Regions from separate parts of the Homo sapiens genome. Here region 2 is linked to region 1. The links are contacts of gene promoters, found by promoter capture Hi-C in human tissues and cell types (Jung and others, 2019). All regions are on one chromosome and are shown on one strand. The core of a region is centred on a gene start or on the middle of the fragment in contact, and the rest is flanking DNA. Distances in the headings are between cores, read along the strand shown.

Region 1 (5,556 bases), core at 2,123-4,622:
AGGCTGATAAATCTGCCTAAGGGAAAGATTAATGGTCAAGGGTCTTTTGTCCTAAGGACAGGATTCACAGTTAACAAGGAACAGTGGTGAGCAGGTCTATGCAAACTTGCCCCCAAAGGCTGAAGAGAGAGACTGACAAATCCAGTTTCTCAGGAAGAAACATTTAAAAGGGACTTAGGAACAGAAACAATCTCTCTGTTGGCTGAGGGATGGTAGATCCCCGCATCTGTGCTCCAGAAAATATCCTCTATATAGCAAGCTTTTTTGGTAAAACATGCAGCTGGTCATGCCTCAGACTTTCTAGCAAAACTTGTGACCACTGGGGAGGTTAGATAAACATCTTTATGAGGGTTTATCCATGCCATGGAAACACCTTGGTATGCAGTAGTCAAACATCGGTCATCATGGCAGTTTTTCTTCAAGACGGCATCACTCTTGCCATGCAACCAGCTGTTTCCCTACCCTGGACCCCACTTCCCCCTAAGTTTGTATTTAAAAAGTGGCATCTTATCAACACATTTTAAGGTAACATGCTGACCTGGTGATTGTCAAGGCCAGAATGGAGAGATATAGTGGGAACAAGACTGTTGGTATGCCTCTTTACCAATTAAGGGATCCTTGTCTCCCCCAAGTGGATGTGTCTCTGGTTGAGGATGACCTTGAAAGGGACTGATTTCTAGCCATGGGGAATACTTAACTGACATCTAACTCCCAGTATCTTCCACCCATCCATCCTACTTTATTCCTTAGGGCTATGCAGAACAAGCCTAGTCTTTCCACTGAGGCATCTTTTAGTTTAGTGAAGACCATGGGCTTGTTTCATGGGTTGTTTCATCAACCTTTCAATATAAAAAGATACCTCTTCACACAGACTTTCTTTACCCCTACTCTGTTGTTTCCATTCCACTTACCTCCTTCAGATATATTTTTTATTTTTGTTGGTTTTTTCCTCGAAGCCCACTAGAATGAAAGCTTCATGAGGCTTTTCATGCCATTTTGTCATGTGCTGTGCTTGGCACATTATAGGCACACAGTACCCTCTGGCTTTATACTCTCACAGATCTGCAAGACCCCTACTGCAACCCAATGCAAACTCCTCTCTCTATAAAAAGATATCTTTTCCCCCAGTAGTTTCAACAGAAGTCATAGAATTGAGTTTCACTGGCCTGGCCAGAATCCTGTGCCCATCCTCAACAAATTACTGTGGCCAAGGGGATGGGCTACATTGCTTGGCTACTCTTGGGTCATCTGCTCAACTGGAATAATGTTTTTTCTTTTTCTTTTTAAAGACAGGGTCTCACTCTGTCTGGCTGGAGTACAGTGGTGCAGTCATAGCTCACTACAGCCTGCAACTCTTGGGCTCAAGTGATCCTCCAGCCTCAGCCTCCTGAGTAGCTGGGACTATAGGCATAAATCACACTATGCCCGGCTAAGTTTTAAAGTTTTTTATGGAGATGGTGGTCTATGTTGCTCAGGTTGGTCTCCAACACCTGGGCTCAAGTAATCTGCCTTCCTTGGCCTCCCAAAGTGCTGGGATTACAGGTGTGAGCCACCACACCCAGTCTGGAATAAGATTTGACTGTTGTAGAATCACATGGCTAGAAGTGATGAAGGATTGATTAAGCACTGCTACTAAAAGAAAGATTGAAGGAATGCAGGACAGGCAAAAGAACACAGGGAGGAATGCATATTCAGAATGTCTGTTTGTCAAGCACTGTATAGGTTGAACACCCTTAATCTGAAAATCCAAAATCCAAAACGCTCCAAAATCCAAAACTTTTTGAGCACTGATGTGATGCTCAAGGAAATGCTCAGTGGAGCATTTTGGATTTCAGATTTTCAGATTGGGATGCTCAACTGGCATGTATTCTGCAAATACTCAAAAATCTGAAAAAATCCAAAATCTGAAACACTTCTGGTCTCAAATATTTCAGATAAGGGATACTCAAGCTGCATATACATTATCCCATTTAATTTACATCACAACCCAACAAAATGGGTACTATTTTTAGAGGAGAAAGCAGACTTAGAAAGATGAAGAAATTTGCCGCTACAAGTTGATGAGCTGGGACTCAAATCCAGGTCTGTTCGGCTCTAGAACAGAACCTATATGTAACATGTCTCTCTTCATCTATCGCTCAGGTTTTATTCACGTGTCACCCTCAGTCATTCACTATGGTTCACTGGATAGCTAGGGAAGCACAGAACAAACACTCAGTATTTCACTCAGGTCAGGCTCTGTGCCCTGAGTGTGCCTGTCTTTGCCATGTTCTCCCAGCCAATGTTTTCTCTCCAATTTCTCCAGTTTTCCAGGCTTTCCATTAGACTGAAACTCAGCTCTGCTTCCATCTCTTCCACGTATTGTCTGAAGCTTTCCCTGATGGTTTCACATACACTAATCCCTGTGAACTCTTAAGTTCACCACTTCTTCTCTGGGGGTGGGGATGGAAAGAGAATAGAAACAAATTACTCTCTGGACAAATTCCATGCAAAGATTTTCAGCTGGGTAGACCCTTGATAAGAGGCCTGAAAAACGTTGGTAAAGTCCAAACCTACTTTTGAACCTCAATTGAGCACCTTTCTTTGTGGCCAGGTTTCACCCTCCAGAGTGTTGGTTAATAGGTTGAGGACAAAGACTCCCTGATCAGAATGAGACTCCCCGAAGATCTGTCCTCTTGTTTAGCAGAATCTGGCACATAGTAGGTACTCAGTGTATATATCGACTCAATATCATGCATCTGTTGTGTCCCAGCTACCTTCCACAGGGCTTGATGGGTTGACTTAAATAATGCTTTTAAAATTCAGGTTATTTCAATACAAACAGCCTGGCATCATTAAGGCACAAGAGCCTCACCCTTCTACACCACTTTCCACGAACTTCCAGTTGCCTTCCTTCAAAATCCTTGTTTTCTTAAGAAACCCACAAAAATACCGCCCCTCTATCAAAACGTCCTCAGCTTTGCCAGGTAGAGAATTGCTTCTGCAGTAGCTGGGCCACGTCTCTGTGGTAGTGCCCACTGCATGGGATCGGTATTAATCTGTTTGTCTTTTTCATCTTCTGGGCTGTGAGCTCCTAGAAGTCAGCTTTTTCACTTTTACCCAAGCCAAACGGTTATTCGCGTAAGGTTGGTTATAATTAAAATGTCGGTTTGTGCACATGGTTTGGGACTCTGTGTATGAGTACGACTAATATCTTCAATTTACTAAGAAGATAAAGAGGTCGATAAATAAGGAGGTCAAGCCCGTTTTGCAAGGTCACACAGGAAAGAAGCAGACCACGAAATGAACTTCGGCTGTCACCTGCGGTGGGCGCACTAGAGGTCTTTTGAACTCCTTCGGCTACCGTCGCCGCGTTCTCGCTGTGCACTCTTATTCTGCGCCTGCGCGCGGCTACAGCACGGTTCGTTTTTCCTTTAGTCAGGAAGGACGTTGGTGTTGAGGTGAGTCCGGTCCCTTTTGCATCCCTACCCCGACACTGCGGGTTGTCACAACGGCACCCTCCCGCTTTCTCTCTGCCTCGGATTTAGTCGTGACTGTGTGTCTCCGCCGTGGTGCAGCTTCAGGCCTCTCCCGCATCTACTCTCTCACGCTTCCGCTGCGGCCTGAGGGAGGGCGGCGGGCGGACCACGGACCGGGGTGGGTTGCGACGGCCCCACCGAAGCCGGGTGGGCTGCGGGACCCTCGAGAACCCAGCTGGCTTCGGAGTGAGCTGGCCCGGGGCTGGTACCCGCTGCGCTTTTTCACAGCCATTGTGACCTTGGTGAGGTCATTTGACCTATCTGGCCCCGGTGTTTCTCCCGTGAGAAAAGGGGTGGTGGTTTCTAATGCAGCTGGTCGTGAGGCGCAAGGGTTAGTGTAGGCGAAGCAGCTGGCAGCGTCGCTCGCTGTGTGGCAGCGTTTTAAATTAGAGCTGGAAAACTGGAGGAGGGTCACCGTACCTGCCGCAGGAGGGGAAGGATGGGCTTCCTGCAACCTCCCTTGCCCCACGGCTTCCCATCCTACCCCCGGCCGCGTTAGCTGAAGGCCAGCAGGGACGCAAAAGTTTTTAGGCCCCTTAGGTCTTTAGGTGAGGCTGGGCAAAGGAGCAGTTAGGGAATTTGGGCCCTCATGGTATTTGCCGCGTTCCCGTCCAGGTTTTAATGGTATACCGTGTGACCGTGGAAAACACCTGCCTCATGATCTGACAGGGTTGTCGCGAAGGTTTAACGAGTGGACAGAAAATTTTTAGAAGAGAAAGTGTTGCATAAATGGGTTTGCAATCGTTAATTACCAATGCGGAGCTACTGCTTATTTTTCTTGTTGTTGGAAAGATTTTTGTTGCCTTTGCTCGTCCATTACTAGTGTGCCGCAGTTTGTCGCGTTTATTTAGGGTGGTCGCTCAGTATATGGGGGGCGGGGGGAAGATGAAACAGGCTAAGCCAAGAGACAGCTTAGGCTTTGTGGGAGGAATCCATCCACTGTCGTGCTGTGCCTCTCTAGGTAGTAAAATGTACTATGCATGAGAATTCCTTTTGATATCTTTTCTGAGTTTTTCTTTTATTATTTTACCCGAGAAAGGGAAAAAAAGCTCAGAGTAGTGAGAGCTACATGAGGTATGCAGGACGCAGAGACCTGAGTATTGGACTTCAGTGCCGCCCCTCACCCATGTCTCAACCCAAATCTTATTCCTGAATTTGTGATATAAAGGACAGCGTTTAGTCAGTCAATAGCTTATGTTATTTTAATGTAAATTTTTGATAAACAGTTTAGGAATTGCCTCTCATTTTTTCTTAACTCACTTGTAGGCCGGAATCCCAGCACTTTGGGAGGACGAGGTAGGATGATCACTTGAGGGCAGGAGTTTAAGACCAGCCTGGGGAGCATAGCTAGACCCTGTTTCTGCCAAAAAAGAAAAACATTCATTTGTAACTGCTGCTAATCGGAGTGTATATTCAGGGCAGCTCCAATCAATGCTTCCAGGTGGCCATTCTCAAGTTTGTGGCTTAAATAAACTCTGTACTTAATCATATTTTCTGAATCTCTTAAGGTTAGCATACGTATCAAGGACAGTAACTACCATGGCTCCCGAAGTTTTGCCAAAACCTCGGATGCGTGGCCTTCTGGCCAGGCGTCTGCGAAATCATATGGCTGTAGCATTCGTGCTATCCCTGGGGGTTGCAGCTTTGTATAAGGTATGTATGTTTTTTACTTTGTGCCGAAGGTCATAAAGTATGTGTTTTTGGTTGAAAAATCTTTTAAAGAAACTCCCCCTTGTAATGTGTTTCTTTCTAACCCTTTCTGCACTCACCTCAGTGTGACAGGAACTATAGCTTGTCCTCCATCTTTAAATGAAGCTTGTTAGTTTGCTGGAATGCCGTAACAAAGAACCACAGACTGGGTGCCTTAAATTTGCTCGCAGTTCTGGAGGCTAGAAATCTGTTGGCAGGGTTGATATCTTCTGAGGCCTCTGTTGGCTTGTAGATGGCTCCCTTTGTCTTCACAGGGTCCTCTGTGGGCATATATCTGTAGCTGAACTTCTTTCCCTTTCTTTTCCTTTACCTTTCCTTCCTTTCCTTT
Region 2 (5,556 bases), core at 1,449-3,948, 1.7 Mb after region 1:
AAGGATCAAGATCAACACGCTAATCAATTCAACTGCCAGAAAGTAAGCCATTCCCCTATCAGTCTTTTTCATAAGGAACATGGATTCTTTACTGCCTCTGCAGAGTCTGTTAGTTTTTCAACGTATCTTCTGTGAAACTAGTGTTCTCTGGACAATAGGTATGCAAAAACCAAAAAAGGTACGTGTGTGGGAGTCTGAAAGACAGATTTCTTTCCTAAAGAGCTTTGCAGAGCTTTGACTCTGCAAGTATTCATTGTGAATCATAATAGGAGGATACCATATATAGCTTTTCCCATATTTATTTAGCCATAAAATACTTTTCTCCAGGAACAGCTGCAGGGACTAGTACTCCCAGGAATACATTTTGGGAAATGCTAATCTATCTTTCTGGTGCGCAGCTCTTTGACCTACCACCCACCAGGCAGAGTGGCTGCAAACGTGCCCTGTCCCCTATAATGAGGGCGGGGCAGCAGGCCCTAGGCAGGGCTGTACAGAATGAGGTTAGGTGACCACGCAGCACACTCAGACTTCTGTCATCGAGTGAGCTCAGCCACAAATGAGGTGACTGAGAGCCCAGAAAACAAATAAGGAATGGTCCAATAAATATAAATATTCACAACTGAACATCAGGTGACATTTTCATTTATTCTGTTTACAGATGCCACTTAGTTACACTGTTTTTTTTTTTTCAGTCTCATCTGGGTTGGATCCAAAGACATTCAGAGGCATGGTAAGAGGCAAAGCATCAGACATCTCATTGGTGGCAGGTACTTCCTGACTACTGTACCACCTGCTGTATCCTTCCCCACCTCATCACCCCCAAAGCCATTTAGTGCCAAATGCTACAGTAAAAACCCAATGCATTTACATAAAATAATGCCTAACTGCATATTTACATTTTTTAGAAAAAAAATCCCATTAAGCTCTTCTAGAAAGTTATGGCAGGAAAGGTAAGGACCAAGGCTATGAGCAAGCCATATGTGGAAACTTAAAGTAGATGAGCACTGAGTTTCTCCATAGTTGGAAAAAAGCCACACTGAGCCCACTCTTCCTGTGAGGCAAGATGAGACCTTCCTTTTATACCCTGTTGAGAATCTCAGGTGGACAACGTGACTGCATGAGTGTTGAAAGGCAGCTTGCCGGCTTAGTTATCACCTTGCAGAGGTAGCTATGCACTACACAGCCACACTGCCCAAAGCGCGCTACTAAGAACACTGGTCCTACAAAGGGCTCCTTGTAAGAGAACTTTAGGAATCACAAGTATTTAGAAAATACTATACACTATCATTTCCTTCCTAGAGATCCGCAATGCACATTATCACATGGAAGTTTCCAGAAGTTCTTTCATAAAGAAATGCTTAACTTTATTTAACCTAGAGTTTCCATATCAACCTGACCTTGGAATCTCTTACTTTTTTAGGTGACACATATCATAGAACATATTCTGAGAAATGCTCCTCTATGGCTTTGAGAAAATCTTTGCAGAAACAAAATAATAATAATTTTTTACTTAAAAAAATTAAGTAACTAGTAGGATCAAGTGTTGGTCAACAACAAAGAGATCAAAGAGTCAGGAAGTCCACGTCATAGACCCCCACTTTCTAATTCCAGCCTAGCACTGACGCCATAAACTGTGCCTGCCTGAAAACAGGCAGAAATCAGTTGTCCATGATTTCTCTCTTTAAGGCTTGAGTTGTTCGGCATGGAAATCACAGTACAGAATTGAATGAGGTCCATCAGGAGCCCATATTTCATGTACAGAGGCCAAGCGTCTTCTCTTGTCTTCTGCTATAACAGTGAAATCATTAAACATCTATTGTTGCTTATCACATGACTATGAGGTTTTTCAAATAGACCTGACAAGCCCTTTGTTTCTAACAAAAAAAGGGGATGATAACTCGTAGAGCTTCTCATTATTTTCAGCCACAACTACACAGACCAAGAGATCATAATACAAAGCTTTTGGCCAAATAATTTAAAAGTATTACAGCAAGGACAGGGAAAGATGAAAATCAATGACATTACTGGAATGATGTAAACATTTCATCATCTGCATAATACATAATTTTTTATTCTTGTTTCCAGGGAGTTTCACATGATATTTTAAAGCAGAAGCAGATTCTCCACATGTAGAACTTGGCAGACAATAATAACGTATTATCTATGCCCTGCTGGGATACAAGCACGCATTCACACCTCAATAGCAATCCTCGCAAATCGATACTGCAGAGAGGCGGGAGGCCTCAGTAGCACTAAGCCCCTCTGCGCTGCAGGCTGGCTGGACAGCATATCCAGCAAGCCTGTCAAGCTAACAAACCCCAGGGCTTCTCCACAGCCAACAGCCATGGAAAAATCTCCCTGAGTCACAAAGCCTAGGAGAGTTCTGGAGCAGTGCAACGTCACACGCGGCAGAGGGCCTGACCACAGCCCTAGAGTCAGAGCTTCCTGCCCAGCCACGGGCTCTTCCCCCGCCGGGCCATCAGAAGAGGCACGTCCTGGCTTCTGCCTCTTCTCCCTTTTCTTCTTCTCTTTCTGTTTCAGGATCTTGCTCCTGAATGGGTCACTGTGTTTGGATTCCTGGGGCCCACAGTAATGCCAGTCCTCATGGAGCTGGAGGAAGTCCTCCTTGGCTGGGACACAGATCATGGTGTGAGGCTCGGGGCTGCCCTTGCTGAGCAGGGACAGGCTGACCCAAACCAGGGCCCTGGGGAAGTGGCCCAAGATGGACAGGCAAGCCTCTCTGGTCAATCCTTGCTGGCCTCTGCCGGGAGCTCGCCGGCCTCCCCGACTATCCTCAGAACTGGGCCCACACCAGGCTGACAGTTGCTTCAGTAATTTTCTACTCCTACATGAAGTTGGAGACATACGTTTGAGGATATTTTGTTCCAGAAAAAAATATGCAATCAGAAGATTAGACACTGCTAGAATTAATTTGATTCTTTTATACTATATAAGAATCAAAACTACAATTTTTTAAAAATTAGAAATACACTGTAGTACATTTTAGTACTTATATTTTTCTTTTTATGTGTTTGCCATTCTGAAACTCAGGGACTAAAGATTTAAGAAGTTGAAGGCAGGGAAAACAAGACAGTGAGATAGAATCTAGGATTGTAATCACAGTGAGGGTGAAAATAAAGAGCCACTAAGATTTCAATGAGTAAAGGAACTGTAAGGGACTGTTACATGTAAAGTAAGAAAGAATGATAGGAAATTATGAGGCTACTATACGGAAAAGTAAGCACAAGGCTAGAGGGATAAGCACTTTTTAAAAATCAAAGCACAGGCCGGGCGCAGTGGCTCACACCTGTAATCCTAGCACTTTGGGAGGCTGAGGTGGGCGGGTCACCTGAGGTCAGGAGTTCGAGACCAGCCTGGCCAACATGGTGAAAATTAGCCAGGCGTGGTGGCATGTACCTGTAGTCCCAGCTACTTGGGAGGCTGAGGCAGGAGAATCGCTTGAACCCAGGAGGCCGAGGTTGCAGTGAGCCAAGATCACACCTCTGCACTCCCGCCTGGGTGACAGAGCAAGACTCCATCTCAAAAAAAAAAAAAAAAAAAATCAGAGCAAAGCACAGAATGCAGGGTCACTGATGAGCAGAACCTGGCCCACACCAATACTGAGAGGAGAACATAGTGTATCCGGTAGCCTCTCTGGCTAGGACTATATTACATCTAATGGGTTGCTGCTCTAACACAAATCCATATAATTCAAAAGGAACTAGAAGAAATCTAATTTGGTAATTTAAAGCAAAGAATCCTTGCTCAAACTGCATAAAATATGTCAGAAAAAAAACTGCCTTGGCTTGGATCTATTGATGACAATATTGTAAATCATTTCATCAATTAGCATCATGCCTTACATCAAATATTATTAAGCTGTTTCCCTGAGCCCTCTATGAAATATAAAAGACTGGCTTTCCCTTCCAGAAAGCCTATAAATTCACTTGGATTTTGCATAAACAAACAGTGATAACGCTTACATCCTGTAGCCTCTTCAATATTAAAATAAATAATCCAAAATGTACCCAGAAGTCACCGACACTTACCTGAGAACGCAGAGGTGACTCCCTGTGGCAGCAACATGGTTTTCACTGGCCTCCTGGTCTGTGATCCTCTCAGGCCCTGCCGATTCTTGACACCCTGCATCCATTACCTCCTCTGCCTCCCTGGGGTGCTCTATGGATGTGCCCACTTCATCAGATGGCTGATGAGTTTTTTTAGGCATGGGAGCACAAGGCACCTCAGATCTTCTTAGGTCACTCTCCTTACCATTTGGAGATGAAGCTACAGAAGGTTCTTCGTAAGCCTGGACTCTTGACTCCCAGTCTTGAGTTAACTGCTCCCAGGGACAGCAGAAAGGTGCCAGAGTGCCAAGCTTAACGTAGTTGGGCCGTTTTGCAGGAGGGCGTCTAAAGAAAAACATACAGGAGAACCAATGTTGAACAATTTAGGATTGGAAAACTAAAATAATTATAACCATTATAATGCATCTCTATTTTAAAACACACACACACACACACACACACACACACACACACACACACACACAAAAGCTTTCCAAGAAACATATGATAAAGAATAATAGGCTGGGCTCAGTGGCTCATGCCTGTAATCCCAGCACTTTAGGAGGCCAAGGCAGGCGATCACCTGAGGTCAGGAGTTCGAGACCAGCCTGGCCAACATGGTGAAAGCTCTACTAAAAATACAAAAATTAGCCGGGCATGGTGGAGGGTGCCTATAATCCCAACTACTGGGAGGCTGAGGCAGACGAATCACTTAAACCCAGGAGGCAGAGGTTGCAGTGAGCTGAGATCACACCATTGCACTCCAGCCTGGGCAACAGAGTGAGACTCCGTCTCAGAAAATAATAATAATAGGCCAGGCATGGTGGCTCATGCTTGTAATCCCAGCACTTTGGGAGGCCCAGGCGGATGGATCACGTCACGTCAGGAGTTCGAGACCAGCCTGGCCAACATGGTGAAACCCTGTCTCTACTAAAAATACAAAAAAATTAGCTGGGTGTGGTGGCACATGCCTGTAATCCCAGATACTAGGGAGGCTGAGGCAGAAGAATCGCTTGAACCCAGGAGGCAGAGGTTGCAGTGAGCCAAGATCATGCCACTGCACTCTATCCTGACAAAAGCGAAACTCCATCTCCAAAAAATAAAAAATAAAATAATAATAATAACCAATTCTACTGGCCAAGCTTTTTTGTTTTCTTTGGTCTTCAATAAACAATGTAGCCCCATGTGGCCACTGAACCACACCAGGGGATCCATTCCTGAAAGCTACAAGGAACTGGTGCCCCTAGAGTTGTGCCACGATTTTCCTGTACACTTACGAGGTTCTAAGCTCAAGGCTACATGAAGTTTCTGTCTTACTCTTGACCTCTAGTGACCCAGCTATCCTCCACAAAGGTAATAAATATCATTATCAGTTTCTTACATAGCCTTCCAGAGACATCTTATGTACACACAAGCAGATATTACATATTTCTTTCTTTTTATTTATTTTTATACAAATAGCAGCATACTAGGTACAGTACTTTTTGCT

What was found. The method cuts DNA at HindIII sites, captures the fragments that hold promoters and counts their contacts. A contact is called where the count stands out against the background at its distance.
Region 2: a fragment that was not itself captured here is called in contact with the fragment with the promoter of COX6C in region 1 in 1 of the 25 tissues and cell types used here (dorsolateral prefrontal cortex).

Annotation. Positions count from the first base shown.
Region 1 is chr8:99,891,523-99,897,078 of GRCh38, reverse strand. It overlaps COX6C (cytochrome c oxidase subunit 6C), which reads left to right and starts at 3,372. Exons shown (of 4, transcript NM_004374.4): 1 at 3,372-3,440; 2 at 5,027-5,171. The coding sequence starts at 5,058. RefSeq lists a silencer at 3,591-3,760 and enhancers at 3,234-3,881, 3,882-4,530. The HindIII fragment of the contact is 7,152 bases long and covers 1,673-5,556 here.
Region 2 is chr8:98,154,906-98,160,461 of GRCh38, reverse strand. It overlaps POP1 (POP1 ribonuclease P/MRP subunit), which reads right to left. Exons shown (of 16, transcript NM_001145860.2): 15 at 4,050-4,412; 16 at 627-2,845. The coding sequence ends at 2,191. Among named protein-coding and RNA genes, the nearest start is that of NIPAL2-AS1, 19 kb to the left of the region's middle. The HindIII fragment of the contact is 5,544 bases long and covers 1-5,470 here.